Linked DNA regions of Homo sapiens: all the other regions are linked to region 1. Evidence: promoter capture Hi-C in human tissues and cell types (Jung and others, 2019). All regions are on one chromosome and are shown on one strand. The core of a region is centred on a gene start or on the middle of the fragment in contact, and the rest is flanking DNA. Distances in the headings are between cores, read along the strand shown.

Region 1 (2,811 bases), core at 178-2,677:
CAGCTCACTGCAACTTCTGCCTCCCTGGTTCGAGCTATTCTCCTGCCTCGGCCTCCTGACTAGCTGGGACTACAGGTGCCCACCACCACGTCTGGCTAAGTTTTTGTATTTTTAGTAAAGACGGAGTTTCACCGTGTTAGCCAGGATGGTCTCAATCTCCTGACCTCATGATCCGCCCACCTCGGCCTCCCAAAGTGCTGGGATTACAGGCGTGAGACACCGCGCCCAGCCAATGAGACCCCTTTTGACGCAGGGCAGGTAAGCCCCAAAGTGCGGCTGAGCCCACAAGGGTTCTTGGCTTTGCCCAAGAAAGAATTCAAGGGCAAGTTAGAGGCAGAAGAAAACGGCTTTATTGAAGTGGCGGCGTTACAGCTCCATGACTGCTCCTGCAGAGCAGGGTTACCCTCTTAGGCAGAGTGTCAGGGCAGTTTTGCTGTCATATTTATACACACTTTTAATTACATGCAGATTAAGGGGTGGTTTATGCAGGCATTTCTAGGGAAGGGGTAGTAACTTTTGGTTTATGGTGCCACTGCCATGGAAAGGGGCGGTAACTCACGAGTGTTGCCATGGCAACGGTAAACTGACTTGGCTGGCTGGTGAGCGAGTCTTAGGGAAGACAGCTTCCGTCCAGGCCCTGTTTTAGCTAGTCCTCAATTTGGTCAGGTATCTCAGCCCCATCTCTGAATGGAGGCCTGCCTTCTACCTCACCTTTGTAGAAGTTTTTGTGAATACATGTCTTCAACCCTCTCGGGTGCGTATCTAAGAGGATAATACTTTTTGGGGAACTGCCAAATTGTTTTCCGGAGCAGCCGCACCGTTTTGCATTCTCACCAGCCGTGTATTCGGGTTCCAATTTCTCCACACTCTCGCAACCCTTGCGCTTTTCTGTCTTTTTGTTTATGGCCATCCTAGCGGGTGCGAAGTGGGATCTCACTGTGGTCGTGCTTTGCATTCACCCTATGACTAATCATGTTGAGCCTCTTTTCACAGACTTAATGGCCATTCTACAGCAGCCTTTTGAGCTAGGTTGTAATCTCCATCTGATAGCGGAGGAAACAGATTCAGAGAGTTGAAGAGACTTGCTTAACGCAAGGGGGTGGTGGGGCTGTGCCTGGGACTTGGGTCTGTCTGTCTCTGAAGCACCGCAGAACCAAATTAACGGTAGAAACAAGTCCAGTCTGAGCGGCAGGAGACCTGGTCGCTGGTGCGTTCACCTTGGACAAGTCCTTTCCCGGTTCCGGGTGTCACTTTCTCCTCCGTGCCACTTGGGGCGATATACTTCAAACATCTCTGGCCTCTCTAGGAACCAGAATCTCTAAGATCAATCGTTCTAGTGCGGCGTTTGCCCCGCCCCTTCAGCCCCCGTTGCCAGCGACGCCGGAAGTGCTCGGCTCTTTTTGTTTGCACCCGCCTCCGACCCGGAACTGCTTTCTTGGGAAGATGGCGGCTGTGTCGGTGTATGCTCCACCAGTTGGAGGCTTCTCTTTTGATAACTGCCGCAGGTGCCGCCTTGCTTGGGGCTTGGTTCAGGGAGGGAGAAGAGTGCGGTGCTCGGGTGGGAGCTGGGCCAAGGTGTGATACGAGAATTCTGAGGGAAGAATTCATGGCGGGGCCTGTGGCCCGCGGCTAGTGTGACTCAGGGGAATCAGGGCCTGGGCGTGGGTTTCTCCTGAAGCCGGGTCTGCTCTCCCACCTTCCCAGCGCACTCGGCCACCGTTTATCTCCGTCTCCTAAGGCACGTCACGGCCCCTTTGTAAGACTGTCTTCGTTGGAAAACGGGAGAACAGTGCTGATGGTGGGAGGATTCATTAAACAGATGGGCGTGAAAACAAGTAGCAGCTTTCCTGAGTTCTCTGTTAGGCACTTTTCATGCCAGTGCTGTGCGATGTGGTCCTGCCCTTCAACACTTGATTCTCTCATTTGCTCTTAGGAATGCCGTCTTGGAAGCCGATTTTGCAAAGAGGGGATACAAGCTTCCAAAGGTCCGGAAAACTGGCACGACCATCGCTGGGGTGGTCTATAAGGTAAGCCGGGTTAGGCTAAGAGCAGCAGTGACTGAACCGGCAACAGGAATCAGAACACTTGGCTTCCGGTGTCTCTCCCGGCTCGGTCTGGAAAGGCAAATGCTATAGAATACATCAGGAGACCGTCTTTCAGGAGCGACTGCTTTTGTCAGGTTTTGTGTGCTTCTTAACAGTTTATGTTCTTTCCTCACTTTGCTGAGGTTTTTTCTTTCTTTCTTTTTTTTTTTTTTAAACAGGTCAGTTAGCTTCTTAATTACTAGTTTAGGAAGCTGAAGTATGTGATGGGAGATCACGAGATTTGGGGTCAGACAGGTCTGTCTCACCTTTGAACTCTATAGTGCTGATTCCAACTTCTGGCAGCTCACTTTCCTTCTCACAGGGACACCTTCAGATGCATCAAATGGAGATAACTCCTGCCTTAAATTGTTGGAAACGTCAAAAGGGATAATGATTACCTGTGCAACATGTTTTAAAGAAAAGCAACATGTTTTAAAAGGAAATTGATAGTGATGGCTAATTTAATGGAAAGATTCCTGAGTCTTAATCCAGGTTTTTTCCAGATTAGCTCTGATTTACAAGGAATTTACCCGACACCTGAGCCTCACTTGAAAATGGGAATAATTCTTACCTACTCAGGATTCAATTAGTAGCATTTACTAAGAAACCTTTTCTTAAATCCTGAAAGTGTAGCACAATATTTTTGCTATGAGTTTTGGCTGGCGTTTTGAGATTAGGGGAGCATGTGGTATGGCCAACATAGTATTCCCTAAAGTAGAATAGAGAG
Region 2 (2,811 bases), core at 157-2,656, 320 kb before region 1:
TTTGGGAGGCTGAGGCGGGTGGATCACCTGAAGTCAGAAGTTCAAGACCAGCTTGGCCAACATAGTGAAACCCTGTCTCTACCAAAAATACAAAAATCAGCCGGGCGTGGTGGCGGGTGCCTGTAGTCCCAGCTACTCGGGAGGCTGAGGCTGAAGAATCGCTTGAACCCGGGAAGTAGAGGTTGCAGTGAGCCAAGAACATGCCATTGCACTCCAGCCTGGGTGACAAGAGCAAAACTCCACCTCAAAAAAAAAAAAAAAATTCGTACTTGCATTTATGCACATGGACAACTGTATACTCACAAACACTTCTAAAGTATTGATAGTTTTGAAATAATTTCTTTAAAAGAAGCATTTTGCTTAGTTTAGAAATTATAATTGATAACCTTTGTAGTACAGTTTAATTTTCATTTACGGTCTTATGGTTAAGATATGAGAGTTACCATTTCAAGGTCTAATTAAATGATGCTTTTCAGGACTATGTGAGTCTTCATCATAGATAATCATTTGCATTTCCAGTTCTTCCTAAATGTGGTGGCGTGCACCATTCTGGGACACATAGTCATAATGGTTAGAAATAGGACATGGGAGTATCCAGTGTATACAGACCTTATTTTGCTATAATGCCGAAAGGTCAAATGATAATTTAGATTGAGATTCCATGAGATGGTCTAGAGTTATTTTTCTGATTGTAGTACTTTGTTACGGCTGGCTCTTTGCCACCAGTCTGCTGTTGAGATCAGTGATAAAGCTTACCTTTCCATCATCGTGAAGCTGATTCAAGCTCTGAGGTGGTGGACCTTCTCACATATTCGCCTCTGCCCTCCTTATTAGTATAAATGTCCATGTTGCAACTAATACTTATTAATTTTTAGGCAAAATAGTTCTCATGATGCTTATCAAACACCAGGGAAATATATTTGTCTTTTTAAAAGTTGTAAATTTCAGAATCAGTTTTGTATTAGATAGTATAGCCCCAGTATACCAGCAGCTATAGGTGTATATAGTACGGTTGACCCTTAAACAATGTGGGGGTTAGGGATGACAACCCCCTGCACAGTTGAAAGTCCACTTATAACTTTTGACTCCTCAAAAACTTTATTAATAACTTACTGTTGACTAGAAGCCTGGCCGATAACATAATCAGTAGATTAACATAATTTTGTATGTTATATGTATTATATTCTATATTGTTACAATAAAGTACACTAGAGAAGAGAACATGTTGTTAAGAAAGTCATAAGGAAGACAAAATATATTTACTCTTCATTAATAGAAGTGAATCATCGTTAAGGTCTTCATCCTCACCACCTTCATGCTGAAGGAGGAGAAAGAGGGGTTGGTCTTGCTCTTGAGTGGCAGAGGTGAAAGAGGTAGAGGAGGTGAAAGGGGAGGCAGGAGAGGCAGGCACACCTGGTATAACTTTTATTGAAAAAAGTCTGCGTAGAAGTGGACCTGTGTAGTTGAAACGTGTTATTCGAGGTCCAGCTGTGTTTTCTGTTCTCTTATGAGTAGCCTTTGCTTAGGGGAGGAAAAGATAAATTCAGTTATTTTTCTGGAGTCATGGTCCTTTCTTTTTTTTTTTTTTTCGAGATGGAGTTTCGCTCTGTCACCCAGGCTGGAGTGCAGTGGCACGATGTCAGCTCACTGCAACCTCTGACTCCCGGGTTCAAGTGATTCTTCTGCATCAGCCTCCGGAGTAGCTGGGACTACAGGCGTGCGCAACCATGGCTGGCTAATTTTTGTATTTTTAGTAGAGACGGGGTTTCACCATATTGGTCAGGTTTGTCTCAAACTCCTGACCTTGTGATCCGCCTGCCTTGGCCTCCCAAAGTGCTAGGATTACAGGCGTGAACCACTGCACCTGGCCATGGTCCTTTCTTAGAAGCATTTTTGAACACTAGGAAGGACATTGAGATGCCCTGTAACCTTTCAGACAACTACACATAAAACATGCTAGATAGTTGATAACTCAGTTTGTTAAGCACTGAGTGTTCTCTCTGCTCCACACCCAGTTCTCTAGACTCTAGGGATACACAGATAAATAAGTATAGCTCTTGTTCTTGTATGTTATCAGTGTGTTAGGAAATATTTGAAAGGACATTTTATAAACCTCTAGTTTAGCATTTAGTACCCAAATGTATTCTCTTTTTCTGCACCTAGTAGCAATTGAAAATGGTTAATGCCCATTTTCTGAGAAAGGTCCTTGATATTCTCAGAAAAATTATTGTTGAATTCTTCTTTCTGGGTTAAGTAATACCAGCTCATTAAACATTTCTTCATAAAATTCCTAGCTAGATATGGCAATTTATAGACCTCTCTATTCCATGAGAATGAACAGACATTGAGACATAATTTTATACATCAGTATAGAATAGGAGTCACCAAAAAAAAAAAAAAAAAAGACTAAAAAATTGTACTTACTGGCAGGGCATGATGGCTCATGCCTGTAATTCCAGCACTTTGGGAGGCCAAAGCGGGAGGATCATTTGAGCCCAGGATCAGGAGTTTGAGACCAGCCTGGGCAACATAGGGAGCCCCGTCTCTGCAAAGAAAATTTAAAAATTATCCAGGTGTGGTGGCATGTGCTTGTGGTCCCACCTACTTGAGAAGGTGAGGTGGGAGGATTGCTTAAGGAGGAGGAGGCTGCAGTTGAGCCATGATCACACCACTGCATTCCAGCCTAGGTGACACAGAGCAAGACCCTGTCTCAAAAACAAACCAAAAAATTTGTACTTAGCGTATGTGGGTAATATTCTCAGTAATTTCTATATTGGGAAGTTAGTAGTAGTTTAATCTTTCTCTTTGAAG
Region 3 (2,811 bases), core at 127-2,626, 300 kb before region 1:
CTTTTTTCTTGTTAGTGTTTTAAAAAGTTTAGTGTTGAGATCTTATACATCTTTATCCTTAAGTATTTTGTTTTTTAATGTTATAGTAAATGATATTATTTTTAAATTTTATTTTCCAATTGTTGCTAGTATATATAAATGCAGTTGATTTTTATGTATTTGTATCTTGTGACATTGTTAAATTTGTTAGTTCTAGTAACTTTAAAAAATAAATTTCTTGGGACTTTTTATGTGTACATCTGTGAATAAAGAGAGTTTACTTCTTCCTTTTTGATGTTTATGACTTATTTATTTTTCTTATTGCACTGGCTAAGATTTCCAGTACAATGATAGATAGAAATGGTGAGAGTGATGTTCTCACCTTGTTCTTAATCTTAGGGGGAAGGAGTTCAATTTCAGTATCAAGTATGATGACACCTCTATTGGGCTTTCTTTTATTTTGTAGAGTTCTGGTAAAATATACATGACGTAGCATTTACCATCTTAACCATATTTAAATGTGCTGGTCAGTGGCATTAAGTACATTCACACTGGTTGTGCAGCTATCACCAGCATCCATCCACATAACTCTTCTCATATTGCAAAACTGAAGCTCTGTACCCATTAACAATAACCATTCTCCCCTGCTCCTGGTAACCACCATTCTACTTTTTGTCTCTATGAATTTGTCTACTCTAGGTACCTCATTTAAGTGGAATCATACAGTTTTGTCCTTTTGTAACTGGCTTATTTCCCTTAGCATAATGTGCCTAAAGTTTATCTATGTTGTATAGTGTTAGAATTTCCTTCATTTTTGAGGCTGAATAAGATTGCATTGTATGTATATACCACATTTTGTTGATCCATTCACCTATTGATGGACACTTGGGTTGCTTTCACCATTTGGTTATTGTGAATAATGCTGCTGTAAACATGAGTATACATGGATGTCTCTCTTCAAGTCCCTACTTTCAATTCTTTGGGGTGTATACCTGGAAGTGGAATTGCTGGACCCTATGGTAATTCTGTTTTTAATTTTTCAGGAATCACCATACTGTTTTCCATAGCTGCCGCCCCACTTTACGTTCTCATCAGCAGTGCTCTAGGGTTCCAATTTCTCCACATCCTCACCAACACTTATTTACTGTGTTTTTGATAGTAGCTCTCCTAATGGTTGTGAGACAATATCTCATTGTGGCTTTGATTTGCATTTCCCTAATGATTAGTGATATTGAGCATCTTTTCATGTGCTTATTGACCATTTGTGTGTCTTCTTTGGAGAAATGTTTATTGAGGTCTTTTGCCTATTTAATTGGATTCTTTATGGGTTTTTGTTTCAGTTATACGAGTTCTTTCTGTGTTCTGTATATTAATCTCTTAACAGATACATGATTTGCAAATATTTTCATCCATTCTGCAGGTTGCTTTTTCATTCTGTTGTGTCCGTCGATGCACAAAAGTTTTACATTTTCATGTTATCGAGCAGTTTTTTCTTTTGTTGCCTATGCTTTTTGTATCATATCCAATAAACCATTGCCAAACCCATTGTCATGAAGCTATCTCCTGTTTTTTTTTTCTAAAAGTTTTATAGTTTAGGGCTTATGTTTAAGTCTTTGATCGATTTTGAGTTAATTTTTGTGTATGGTATAAAGGTAAAGGCCAGCTTCATTTTTTTCTCATGTGGATATTATTTTATCAGTACCATGTGATTATTCTTTCTCCATTGAGTGGTCTTGGTAACCTTGACAAAAATTGTTTGACCATATATATGAGGGTTTAGTACTGGGCTCCCTATTTTATTCCATTGGTCTATGTCTGTCATTATGGTAATACCAGACTGTTTTGATTACTGTAGCTTTGTAGTAAATTTTGAAATCAGGAAGCTGTAGGGTTTTTGTAGATGCCCTTTATCAACTTGAGAAAATGCTGTTGCTAGTTTGCTAAGAGTTTTTTTTATCATGAGTGGTGTTGTTTTCAGATTAATAATTAATTACTAATCTGTAAATCAGTTATGTTTTCATACCAATTCTCCATCTAGATTGTTTAGACTTAATATGGTGAATTACACTGATTGAATTTTGAAACTCAGGCTAGCCTTTTAATGCTGAAATAGACCTCATGTGGTCAGTGATGTATTATAATTTTCCAGTGTTGCTGAATTCAACTTGGTAATATTTTGTTAATGGATTTTTGTGATTATGTGTAGAAGAGCCAAAACCTATGTTTTAATCTTGGTGCCATACTGCCTTCAAAAGACTTTTTTTTTTTTTTGAGACAGGGTCTTGTTCTGTCGCCCAGGCTGGAGTGCAGTGGCGTGATCTTGGCTCACTGCATCCTTCGCCTCCCAGGTTCAGGCGATTCTTGTGCCTTAGCCTCCTGAGTAGCTGGGACTACAGGCGTGTGTCACCTACCTGGCTAATTTTTGTATTTTTAGTAGAGAAGGGGTTTCGCCCTGTTGACCAGTCCGGTCTCCAGCTCCTGGCCTCAAGTGGTCCCCTTGCCTCGGCCTCCCAAAGTGCTGGGATTACAGGTGTGAGCCATTACACCCAGCCTCCAGAAGACTTTTATTTTTCCTTAATTTCTCATTTTGGGCATATTCCCTTTTATTTGTTGAATCTGCATTAGTTTAATTTTTCGTGTAGTCATAAACCAACTAATAGGCTTTCTAGATGGGCATAAGCGCTCTCTCCTCCTCCTTCAGTTTTTAAGTCTCCATCTAGTGGTCTATTCTGGAAGCACAGAGGTGAGAACCTGTGTTAATGTATTGGTGGGTATGCCAGTTTTGTCCATTAGGTGGCAACAGGCCCTAACCAAAGAGGGAAGAGCACTCAG
Region 4 (2,811 bases), core at 83-2,582, 280 kb before region 1:
GACTCTTCTCTTACTGTCTTATTTGACTTTTGCTATGAGAATCTGCTTCTTCTTAGACTTAAGTGTATGATAAATTATTCATGACCAAGGGCCTTGTTTTTCTTTCTTTAACATGGGATTTAGTGGCTTATCTCATGTTACAGGATTTAGAGAGTTGATACTACATTTAAATTTTTTGTTAAGAAAAATGTACATCTTCTATCTCACTTAGGTGTTTTTCCTGTTTGAGGGACATGGTTTGCAAAGGTTAGAATGAATGAGCCTCATAGTTTTTGTCAAAAGAGAATATTGATGTACATCTGAATAATAACCAGAACATTCATATTAAGTCATACTATATAGCCATTTAAAAGAATGACGAGTACATAAAAGACTGTTGTGGAAGTCTATGATATATAGCTGAATAACAAAATAGATTATAGAACAATAGGTAAAAATGAGCTTATTTTTGTCTAAGCCACTCTCCCCCCAAAACATGCAAAATTACAGCTATTTATCTGTGTATGTATGGATAAAGGTCTTCAAGGATATAAAATAAATTCTAGTTATGATATTTATTATCTTAATAAGTTTATTATAATTATACATGTTTTCCTCCGAGGAAATGGATTGCAGATGATGATTGAAGGGATTTTCAATTTTTACTTTGTATATTTTTGTATTTGAATTTCTAAATAATAAGCATATGATTCTGTTTAGAAATTCTGAATGTACTGATTTTTAAAATGTGATGTGATATCCAGATATGTATTTAATTCTTCCTATAAAATATCATTTCCTTAAATCTAGACTATTGAAAAAGGAGAAAAGTACTAGGAATTTAGAGAACTTACTCCATGTTAGAACCAAGGAGAACAAGAAAAGCTTTAGCTAGTGTTTTGGAAATAGTAGCAGCTCCCACTCACAGCAGTAGCTGCTGCACTCAGGCGACTCTCTGCACATGCTTTTGCTTCCTTTGGGTTGTTTGGTCCGCAGTTTGCATTCATTGATCAGTGAGTTGATTCAGACTCAAACCCACCGACAGCAATGAATGTTGAGTGCAGCCATCAGTGTTTTCAGTTGGTGGGGTTGCCTTTGCCCTCCCTGGCTGACTCCTGGCTCTTCTTTTCCATCTCAGTTCTTTGAAGTCTGTGTGTCTGGCTTCTCCCTTAGTAACCAGCCATCTGCATGATTGAGGGCCCACACAGGTGTCCATAACATTGACATTGGAGCTGGGAGGTTATTGCAGATGAGGAAGCTGTGGTTCAGAGAAGGAAGGAGTGCTTGGAGAACCTCACAGGTAGCACTGCGCCACACAGGCAGTGCTTGCATATTAGTACCTGTAAACCACAGCTGAGGGACCTGCTTTTCCTCTTTGTTTTGAACTGAGAAGTATGAGTGCTTTTTTGAGGTAAATTAGCAGATTATGTTGGAGTTTAATAATAACAGCTTACATATATTGAGCATTTGCTGTGGGCTAGTAATGGTACAAAGCACCTTATATATTATCTCATTGAGTCTCAAAACTCCATGATAGGTACTCTTAGCCTCTGTTTTATATGTGAGAAAACTGAGACACTTGCTTAGGGGGTCAAATAACTAGTTAAGGGCTTGAGCCAAGATTCATCCCAGATCTGACTGACTCCAGGGCTAAGTTTTTGCTTGAATTTAGCAAACATTTAAATAAGCATATGTGGGGATATGTGGGCACTAGTAAGGCAATAGCTCATGCTCTAACTGGGATATCAAAAATTAACCATATTAACTATAATTCAAAGTGAAATGTGATAAGAACTGTCACAATTGGATAATTTTGTGCTATTTTTGCTTATTAAATCCTCCCCTTGCCCCTAATTAAAAATTTTGAGAGGATGTGGGAGAAATGGGAGTAATTATTTAACTGGATTTTATTCCAAAACAAAATACGTATTTTTAATAAATTTTTACTTGCTACGTCCTGTTTCTCACCAGAATGGTGCATATCTAGGAGACATGTAGGTACATTAGATATCATCATGGACTGCTCCTTACCTTGTTGAAATGAAACACTTTTTTTGTAAAAACAAACAAATAATAATAAAACACACAACAGAAAGCAAGGAACAGTGAGCAGTAGGAATAAAATTCACTGGACCACATTTGGGGGATTGCAGGACCATTTCTGGTGAACTCATGTGACATGTGAAGGTACAGCTTGCTCTTTTGCTTCAGGAAATGTAGTGTCGTCTGTAAGGACCCCAAGGTACAGTCAACGGTCAGTGGTTTTTTCAAATCCCAAACTCACCGACAGCGTTGAATGTTCCTTGGAGTCCTCTGAAGGCTGGCCTGATAGCCCTTCTTCATTCTCCCATCCACATCCCAAGAACCAGTGAGCAGTGAGACCACCGCTGATGGATGCTCTTACATTCCTCTCTGGGTTTCAAGTCGAGAGTATTTAAATTATAAAATCAATTTGTGTGCAGCAGAGAACTAATGAACTGTGGGATAGACTGTGCAGTAATTTGTACAAGCAGACTCAAATGAATGTCTGAGAAAATGTCTTTGAATGGTATTATTTTGTGATTCTAAAAATGTAAAATACCTGATTTTGCAGTAGTATTTTAATTGTTAACAAGGGTAAGAGATTAACATATATTGGGGATCTGCTATATACTAGGATTTGTATATTTTATCTCATTAAATTCTCAACAACCCACATTTTCCTGATGAAAAAACTTGAAGTGATTTGCCTAAAGTTACATTGCCAGGAGCCAAGGTTATAAGCCAGAATTTGAATACTGGACTTCATGTTTCCAGTGCTCACTCATCATACTGCTTCTGTTGTCTACTACA
Region 5 (2,811 bases), core at 190-2,689, 260 kb before region 1:
GCCCACCTGTAGTCCCAGCTACTTGTGGGGCTGAGGCAGGAGGATCACTTGAACATGAGAGGTTGAGGCTGCAGTGAGCTGAGATCAAGCCACTACACTCCAACCTGCGTGACAAAGTGAGACTCTGTCTCCAGAAGAAAGGAAATAGTAATAATAATTTGGAAGTAAAGCTTGGTAGTTACTATACTATTTTGACCATATATGAAAATTTGAAATATTTCATGATAGGAAACATAATCCTATCACTCTAAACATGTCAAATTATATATCTAGTTTATGAGCACTAAGGCCTTTTTTTTTCTTCTTTAACCTGTTATTTTTGAGATTTGGAATTTTTATGTTTTTCTTGGATGCCACTGGAGGGAAATAGAGAATGAAGTCTTGTTTGTGTGGTATCAGTTGTTGAAAGGGACAAACGCAGTTTTGATCTTGAAACTAGCTTATGTGTAAATTCTTTTCAGTCTTGAATATGAGTGAAGTAAAGGTAACCACTTAGCTCTGTTAAGTATATGATTGCTCTAGTCACGAATTTTAAAGGTTCTATCGTTCATAAGTTTGTCTAGTACTTACTGAGGACTTGCCATATATCTGATATTGTGAGAAGAACTGTCCCAAACGGTGACATTACTATTTCATTTTGCATTTGAGGTTACTGAGGATCTGGATACTTAAACTTCCAATGTCAGAATATAAACAAGAAAGTAATCATCACTCTATAAACTGATTCTTTATTGCCACAAATGGATTATCACTACTTTAGGAGAGATCCTGTTTTTGAAGTCTACTGTTTTAGAAGTCTTTTTAGAGCTTGTACTAAGTGGCCTTTAAAAATCTCATAATAATTTCTAACACTTTCTTAATAACTTGGCAGTATGGCTTTGTCATTTAAAACAAAATCTGGAGGAAAGGAAAATATTTATTTCCCTGTGGCATGAAAAGAGGCTATATGTAGGTCATTTTTTTTTTTAAATAAAAGGCAAGAAAGTCTCCCTCCAGACCACATCAGAACTATGCCAGCTTGGTACGGGGCCCTTACCAGAGTAATGATGTAAGAATCTGAGAGTACATAGTGCAGCTGCCAAAGCTCATAATGTTTAATTTCAGCACTGTCTGTTTGCCAGAGTTTGCAGCTCAATATTTTTTTCTGTATGGATCAAATTATAATCACATATATTTATCTTATTGGGGTAGGAGAAGTAAAGAGTTATTGTTTGATAAATTTGCCGTTTTCCTAGGGAATGGTGCTGTTTTGCCTGTCACATGCTTCTGAGCATTATTCCCCCACTGATTCCTAAGAACTTATTCTCCTGGGTGAATTCTTCTAACTTGTGACACAGAGGGGCAATTCACACCTTGCCTGTTTATATTTTGCAAGAAAACCCTTCTCTTAGCGTGGGTATCTATTCAGGCAGTTCCATGTGCTACATTCCATCCATTTGCCAAGTCTTGGACTCTTATCCAAAGTACAATATTTGAGTATACAATTACACCTACACGTACCGGCAAGAGCGTACTTTTTCCTAGCCTCTCTTGGAGAACGCTTGAAGCCAGAGGAGCAAATCCAGATGTTCTGGATTGAGTTTGGCACCTTCAATTGAGAATTCTAGATGGAAAGATTTCATTTGGAAGTGTACCAGGCTTGCCCAGCAGTTGCTTCCTGTTGCTAACCATCATATTTTTATGACCAAAGATTCTAGACTGCCTCCTTTGTTGAGCAGAAAGAATTACACACTAGGGCCACATGGGAAGTGGCTTCTCATCATTTGAGAGAAATATCAGCAGGCATGCAGAAGAGGGTAGCCTTGCTATTGGGAATAAATCTGGGTTGAGAGCAGGTACAACTACAGCTGCAGCTCTTTAGCCAGACCTGGCTTTATTTAAATTTCAAACAGAAATCTTTGACATCAACCTAAGTGAACCATTATTGGCTGTCTGCCACCTAACAGTACCTTGTACAAGGAGGAGGTGCTCTCTGACTGTATTCAGTCAACACTTATTGAACACCTTCTGTGTGTGCCAGGCAATGTGCTAGATGCTGGTGATGAATAAAGTATTTTTTCGAGAAGTTACAGTCTGGTAGGAGGCACAGACTCTTAGACAGATAAATTACAATTCACTGATTTTATTTGTTGCTTATACAATTTAGTATTTTGTTTGCTTTGTAAGTCAGCAACATAAGCCAGTCCACAGGATTAACTCCATAACTTTCTAAGTAAGAACAAGCATAGGATTTCCTTTCAGTTCTAAAGAATGTTTACTTGCTTGCATTTTTGCGTCTTTAGATACCTCTTCTGACTTGCCCAGGGATGAAGTTTGTGGAGTATGGGAAGAAAAGACTAGTATAAGGCAGGAAGGCATTTCTAAGAAAGCTTCCAGAATTGATTATTTTGTCCTAAGAGATGTTTTCTTCACTTAAAAATTATGTGAGAACGCACAAAGGTTAGCTGTGTTGGTTATCAGTTTGTTGTAAGGTAAGAGCAAGAAAAATCATTTTCCTCTATCTCTCTGGAATGTAGGACTCCTTTATCTGAGTGATTACATGGTTAAGGCGGAGCTAGAAAATACATTTCCTTCATACCTGTTTCTGGATGGATGAGGTCACATTTACTTAGTAGTTATATAGTTCCTGTGTTGTAATTTGCTATTCCTTCAGCCTTTTTTCCTCCCATTTTTGAAGATGGGTATATGAATATTTCCATTGGGCCTCTCTTAAATACAAGAAAAATATTAAGTTGCTTATGTCCAAATTCATTTCTTTGATGTGCAGCAGCCTCAAAGCATGTGTACCTCTGTTATTAAGATAATAATAGT

What was found. The method cuts DNA at HindIII sites, captures the fragments that hold promoters and counts their contacts. A contact is called where the count stands out against the background at its distance.
Region 2: a contact is called between a fragment that was not itself captured here and the fragment with the promoter of PSMB7 in region 1, in 4 of the 25 tissues and cell types used here (dorsolateral prefrontal cortex, hippocampus, mesenchymal stem cells and 1 more).
Region 3: a fragment that was not itself captured here is called in contact with the fragment with the promoter of PSMB7 in region 1 in 1 of the 25 tissues and cell types used here (dorsolateral prefrontal cortex).
Region 4: a fragment that was not itself captured here is called in contact with the fragment with the promoter of PSMB7 in region 1 in 2 of the 25 tissues and cell types used here (dorsolateral prefrontal cortex and mesenchymal stem cells).
Region 5: a fragment that was not itself captured here is called in contact with the fragment with the promoter of PSMB7 in region 1 in 1 of the 25 tissues and cell types used here (dorsolateral prefrontal cortex).

What each region holds. Positions count from the first base shown.
Region 1 is chr9:124,414,058-124,416,868 of GRCh38, reverse strand. PSMB7 (proteasome 20S subunit beta 7) reads left to right here and starts at 1,427. Exons shown (of 8, transcript NM_002799.4): 1 at 1,427-1,505; 2 at 1,934-2,027. The coding sequence starts at 1,444. RefSeq lists an enhancer at 1,471-1,520. The HindIII fragment of the contact is 5,075 bases long and covers 1-2,692 here.
Region 2 is chr9:124,730,149-124,732,959 of GRCh38, reverse strand. All of the region lies in intron 2 of NR6A1 (nuclear receptor subfamily 6 group A member 1), which reads left to right. Among named protein-coding and RNA genes, the nearest start is that of MIR181B2, 38 kb to the right of the region's middle. The HindIII fragment of the contact is 7,392 bases long and covers 1-2,811 here.
Region 3 is chr9:124,712,047-124,714,857 of GRCh38, reverse strand. The region is part of intron 2 of NR6A1 (nuclear receptor subfamily 6 group A member 1); the gene reads left to right. LOC124902269 (a long non-coding RNA gene) reads left to right here. Exons shown (of 2, transcript XR_007061772.1): 2 at 1,023-1,524. Among named protein-coding and RNA genes, the nearest start is that of MIR181B2, 20 kb to the right of the region's middle. The HindIII fragment of the contact is 6,244 bases long and covers 1-2,811 here.
Region 4 is chr9:124,691,949-124,694,759 of GRCh38, reverse strand. All of the region lies in intron 2 of NR6A1 (nuclear receptor subfamily 6 group A member 1), which reads left to right. All of the region lies in intron 1 of MIR181A2HG (MIR181A2 host gene), which reads right to left. MIR181A2 (microRNA 181a-2) reads right to left here and starts at 2,318; the gene lies at 2,209-2,318. It overlaps MIR181B2 (microRNA 181b-2), which reads right to left and starts at 1,050; the gene lies at 962-1,050. The HindIII fragment of the contact is 6,533 bases long and covers 1-2,811 here.
Region 5 is chr9:124,674,597-124,677,407 of GRCh38, reverse strand. The region is part of intron 2 of NR6A1 (nuclear receptor subfamily 6 group A member 1); the gene reads left to right. All of the region lies in intron 1 of MIR181A2HG (MIR181A2 host gene), which reads right to left. Among named protein-coding and RNA genes, the nearest start is that of MIR181A2, 16 kb to the left of the region's middle. The HindIII fragment of the contact is 3,220 bases long and covers 1-2,811 here.